Regions from separate parts of the Homo sapiens genome. Here region 1 is linked to region 2. The links are contacts of gene promoters, found by promoter capture Hi-C in human tissues and cell types (Jung and others, 2019). All regions are on one chromosome and are shown on one strand. The core of a region is centred on a gene start or on the middle of the fragment in contact, and the rest is flanking DNA. Distances in the headings are between cores, read along the strand shown.

Evidence for each region. Contacts are between HindIII fragments. The study calls those that stand out against the background at their distance.
Region 1: a contact is called between the fragment with the promoter of DLL4 here and a fragment that was not itself captured in region 2, in 2 of the 25 tissues and cell types used here (bladder and dorsolateral prefrontal cortex).

Annotation. Positions count from the first base shown.
Region 1 is chr15:40,928,074-40,930,773 of GRCh38, reverse strand. It overlaps DLL4 (delta like canonical Notch ligand 4), which reads right to left and starts at 1,434. Exons shown (of 11, transcript NM_019074.4): 1 at 1,040-1,434; 2 at 658-927; 3 at 92-149. The coding sequence starts at 1,105. RefSeq lists silencers at 1,540-1,629, 2,223-2,292. The HindIII fragment of the contact is 17,329 bases long and covers 1-2,700 here.
Region 2 is chr15:41,099,369-41,102,068 of GRCh38, reverse strand. The region is part of intron 1 of INO80 (INO80 complex ATPase subunit); the gene reads left to right. Among named protein-coding and RNA genes, the nearest start is that of INO80, 16 kb to the left of the region's middle. The HindIII fragment of the contact is 3,775 bases long and covers 1-2,700 here.

The sequences.
Region 1 (2,700 bases), core at 185-2,684, 170 kb after region 2:
CCCAAGCCCGCACTTCCCCCGCCTAGAACAGATTAACTCTTTCGGCGCTGCGCCGTGTCGCCCCCCTGTGGTGGCGGAGCGAGCTACTCACCTGGCCGCAGGTCGTCTCCTGGCGCGTGCCAAGCTTCGATGATGAGCGAGAAGGTACCCTGGGAAAGGGGGTGGGGGGACGGAGAGATGGCGAGATGAGCAAGCGGGGAGAGGTGGGGGTGCCTTGCGGCAGCCTGTTTAATTAATCTAATTGCAGGATTCAGTTACTGCGCCCGGGTCAACATAACGGGGCTGTGCACAGTGTAGCGCTTGAGCAGGGAAGGCGAGAGGAGAACCCCCGGTAGAGGGAGGGTTGAGAGACGGGAGAGTGTAAGGGAGAGCCACTGGAGGAGGGGGTGGTAGGGTACCGCCCCAGAGTGGTAGGTAATGAAAATCGTGTCCCAAGAGCTGGGGACGGGAGGACATAAACTGGGAAGACGGAGACTGGTGAGAGCCTTTTCTGGGATCAGTCTCAGGAGAGAGTCGGGAAGAGCCAGGAAAGAATGCATCCTGGGCTTTTTGGGGGTGGGGGTGTGTGTACAAGGAAATCTGGGGAGGGGGCTTTGGTCCCAGGGCGCCTCCTCTCTCGGCTTCTGCGACCTCCCAGTGCGCCCAGGCTGTGCTCACCGGCCAGGTGAAATTGAAGGGCAGTTGGAGAGGGTTGCGCCCCCCGCCGCTACTGTCGTCCCGGACAGCGAAGGAGTTGGTGCCCAATACCGGCGTGGAGACGGTCCCGAAGGTGCAGGGTCCGGGCGAGACGACCGCCTGGAAGTGCTTAAGGCAGACGCGGAAGAAAGTCCGGCAGCCGGGCTCGCAAGGCCGCCCACTGGCCAGTACGCCGCGCTCGTTGATGAACTCCTGCAGCTGCAGCTGGAAGACGCCGGAGCCGGCCGCGCGCTATTGCACAGGGACCGAGGGAAGGAGGGAGGGGACCGGTCAGCTCAGCTGGTGCCCGGGGCTGAGGCCCAGAGCGCGGCAGAGGGGACGGAGAGGGCGCGGGACGTGTTACCTGCTGCCAAAGTGCCACCAGCAGCAGTAGCGCCCAGCCAGAGGCGCTCCGGGACGCTGCCGCCATCCCCTCGGGCGTCGCTCTCTCCACCCGCGGGCCCTCAATCTGGCTCTGTTCGCGACGCCGCTTTCCCGCGCGTCCGCCAGCCGGCGGGGTCCCTGAAAAGAGGCGCTCCTCTCGGGACGCTGCTCCCCTTTGGCCTTCTCGCTGGCTCCGCTGCAGCTGCCGCTGTAGGTAATCCAGGTGACTACGGCTGGGCGGCGACCGCGCCGAGGACGCGTCTTCTGTCTAATCCTGGGGCTGCAAGCGGGCTAGTGCCGGTGTACGCTGCACCAAGGCGGCTGGGGCTGCGGCTCTTGGCCTCGTGTTCCCGGCCTGCGCGCAGCGCCGCTACTGAAACCTGCGCGCTGGGGGCCTTCCTTATATATATTGGCTCCTCTCCTCGCCGCCTGTCACTCAGACTCATGGTCATTCTCCCCTCCCCTCCCGGCCTCTAGCTGCTACAGTCCCAGCGCCGCCCGGAGGGGGCCTCCGCCCCCGCCGCTCCCCCCTCCCCGTCAGCCAGTCGGGCGCAGGTCCCCGCCCCTCCGTGCCGCTCCCAACCTCTAGGTCCCCCAGCTCTGCGCGTGCCGAGGTGACCAGTCCTCCGTGATGGCGGGGTTAAGGGCTGAGACCCTGGCCGCCGGAGGATAGAGGGGTTGCCCGGTAATGGGGCAGGAGGTGAGTGGGTGGTTCGGGGATGGTCTTGGGGGCGGAGACACTAGGCAGTCCCTGTAGGCTGTGCATCCGCAGCAGGCGCTAGTTACCTAGTGTTCCAAAGCAGGTAAAAAGAACTTAAGCCCGGAATGCAAAAACCAGCGCTAGGGAAATCCGATCTCCTTTTCCTTCCTGGAGCTTCTGGAGCCCTTGTCTCAACGGCCCCCAACCTATGAGTGCCCACCCACCACGCGTCCCCAGCGCAGCAGGGAAGCCAGCAGAAGCGTTAACCTCTCTGTGGCCACTCTGAGCAAGGCTAGGGGCTAAGGGTCTAAGGCTCGGGGCCCTCTCTGTGCACCTGTTGGGCGTCTCCCTCTCTAGCTAAGGGGGGGCGTGCCCAGCGCGTGCCTTCTCCCTTCTGCCCCCTGCCAGGGCTTGGCGCGTGCCAGAGACCCAGACGCGCGGTCCCTGAGGTGGGGGAGGGCGGGGCGTGGTCCCGGAGGTAGGAGGGGGGCGCGTCCTCAGCTGTATGGTAATGAGGTTCTGGCCCCGCCTCCAGCGCGTCCCCTCACCTGAGTCCAGCTTCAGTTCCTGCGCCCACTGCCTCCCCCCACCCCAGCAGCCCCAAGCCCCCGGCCGCGCCCTGTCGCTCAGCTGGGGCAAGGAGGAACTCTCCTGACGCCAGAGTTGGCTCAGGCCACTGGAGAATCAAGGTGAGGGACTGAGGCCGGGTCGGCCCGGGTCCTCGCCTCATAAGGCGGGATGTGGGGTGGAACTGGAGGCTTGCGGAGCTGTTTGAGTTTCAGGCGGCTTCCCAAGTCTCGCCCGAGAGGGTCCCCTGGGTGGCCCCACTCCTCCAAGCGGCAGCAGCGCAGCTGCTTTCTCGGAACCCGGCGTGATCCCCGGAGACCGCAGACCGGGGAGGGCCGGCTTCTCCCAGTCTCAGGGGTGCCGGGGAGCTCTCT
Region 2 (2,700 bases), core at 91-2,590:
CAGGTGCGTGCCACCAAGCCCAGCTACTTTTTTGTATTTTTAGTAAAGGCGGGATTTCACTGTGTTAGCCAGGTTGGTCTCGAATTCCTGACCTTGTAATCTGCTCGTCTCAGCCTCCCAAAGTGCTGGGATTACAGGCATGAGCCACCATGCCCGCCAAGAAATAGTCATATCTTTTGTACTAGTATGGAGAATCACCTTGACTAAGAGTTACAAATAGGCCGGGTGCGGTGGCTCACGCCTGTAATCCCAGCACTTTGGGAGGCCGAGGTGGGTGGATCACGAGGTCAGGAGATCGAGATCATCCTGGCTAACACAGTGAAACCCCGTCTCTACTAAAATACAAAAAAACTTAGCCAGGCGTTGTGGCGGGCGCCTGCAGTCCCAGCTACTCGGGAGGCTGAGGCAGGAGAATGGCTTGAACCTGGGAGGCGGAGCTTGCAGTGAGCAGAGATCTCGCCACTGCACTCCAGCCTGGGTGACAGAGCAAGACTCTGTCTCAAAAAAAAAAAAAAAAGTTACAAATAAAGTCTGTTTGTGTTGGTGACTCAAATATCACAGCAAGTAAGAGGAAACTATTGAGCTAAGGTGAAATAAAAGAGGATGGAATGATTTGCTCTTCAGGCTCTTCCAAGATGAGCGGGGAATGACTTCAGCATTTTGAGGAAGAGGGAAAAAAGATTTGAAGTAATCTTGGTAGAGAATGAGAAACAATTGGTAGAAGGTGGGTAAAAGGGTTATTGAGAATTATCAAGTGTTTTGCTGAAGTTGGACGATAACAGATGGGTCAGGTTGATGGCCATGCAGTTTCCTTGTAGGGAATAAGAGACAAATGAGGAGATGAAAGTGGTTATTGCAGCAGCAGCTTTTAACATGCTAATCAAGACTAGGCTGAATTGAGAGGCCAGCAATCTTAAAAGGTGATTAAGAAATGATTGTCAGCCGGGTGGGTGGCTCATGCCTATAATCCCACTACTTTGGGAGGCTGAGGTGGGTGGATCACTTGATGCCAGGCGTTTGAGACCAGCCTGGCCAACATGGTAAAACTCCATCTCTACTAAAAATACAAAAATTAGCTGTGTGTGGTGGGGTGCGCCTGTAGTCCCAGCTACTTGGGAGGCTGGAGGTGAGAGAATCACTTGAACCCAGGAGGCGGAGATTGTAGTGAGCGGAGATCACCCCATTGTGCTCCAGCCTGGGCGACAGAGGGAGCCTCTGTCTCAAAAAAAAAAAAAAAAGAAAAAATTGTGAATGGTAGTAATGGTTGCACAACAATGTGAATGTATATAATGCCACTGAAGTGTACACTTAAAAATGGTTAAAATGGTAAGTTTTATGTCTTTTGCCACCATAAAGAAAAAAATTGAACACTTAAAAAATATAACTTGGTTCTCCAGATGTCATCATAGGACTTCTTGTGGAGAATTTTGTGCTTACAGCACCTTTTTTTGGTGGTATTGTGGACATAAGGGAATTCATTGCAGCTGTCATTTCAGCCATCAGTGGTGATATGCTGCAAAGATGATTTCTGGGATGAATCAGTTGACAGGACTGATGTATACTGGGTGTCAAAAGGGAGCATATATTGAGGATTGTAAGACTAGAAGTTAACTGTGATCTTTCTTCAACAAATTGTTTTTGATTTCATACTCACATAGGTACTGAGGAATAAGTTTTGAAAATATTCCATTCATTGGCCGGGCACAGTGGCTCACACCTGTAATCCCAGCACTTTGGGAGGCCGAGGCGGGCGAATCACGAGGTCAGGAGATCGAGACCATCCTGGCTAACACAGTGAAACCCCGTCTGTACTAAAAATACAAAAAGTTAGCCTGGCGTGGTGGCAGGCGCCTGTAGTCCCAGCTACTCGGGAGGCTGAGGCAGGAGAATGGCGTGAACCTGGGAGGCAGAGCTTGCAGTGAGCCGAGATTGGGCCACAGCATTCCAGCCTCGGCTACAAGACTTTGTCTCAAAAAAAAAAGAAAAGAAAATATTCCATTCATTTCGAATCACTCCGTATTACTTGGTAGTCATACCTCCTTAATTAGTGTCATTTTCCTTATCAGGTAAAATAACTAGAGCATGGATTAATTGTTCTGTAATAAAAGCTTGGGATGGAGCCAAGCAGAGTAGTTTTACATTTATACATGTATCAAGATGAATTATTTGCTGTTCTCTTAAGGGAGTTTTGTTGTATTTTAAAAACCAATTTCTTTGAAATCTTCTGGAGTGGGTGGGTACACGTTAGGTCTCATTTTGAAAAGGTGAAATTTAAAGTTTTTTTTTTTTTGGATAGTCTCACTCTGTTATGCAGGCTGGAGTACAGTGGTGCGTTCATGACTTACTGAGGTCTCAACCTCCTGGGCTCAAACCATCCTCCCTCCTCAGCCTCCCAAGTGGCTGGGTTTACAGGTGCATGCCACTACACTCAGCTAATTTTTAAATTTTTTTGTAGAGACAAGGTCTCGCCATGTTACTCAGGCTGGTCTTGAACTCTTGGGCTCAAGCTCTCCTCCTGCCTCACCTCCCAAAGTGCTGGGATTACAAGCTTCAGCCACTGCTCCTGGCCAAAAGTATTTTTTAGCATTCTTTTTTCTTTATATTACCAAGACTGACAATTTACAAACTATGAAATTCACATAATTTAAATAAAATATACAGTTCAGTATATTTTGAATATATTTTTGGTAGATTTACAGA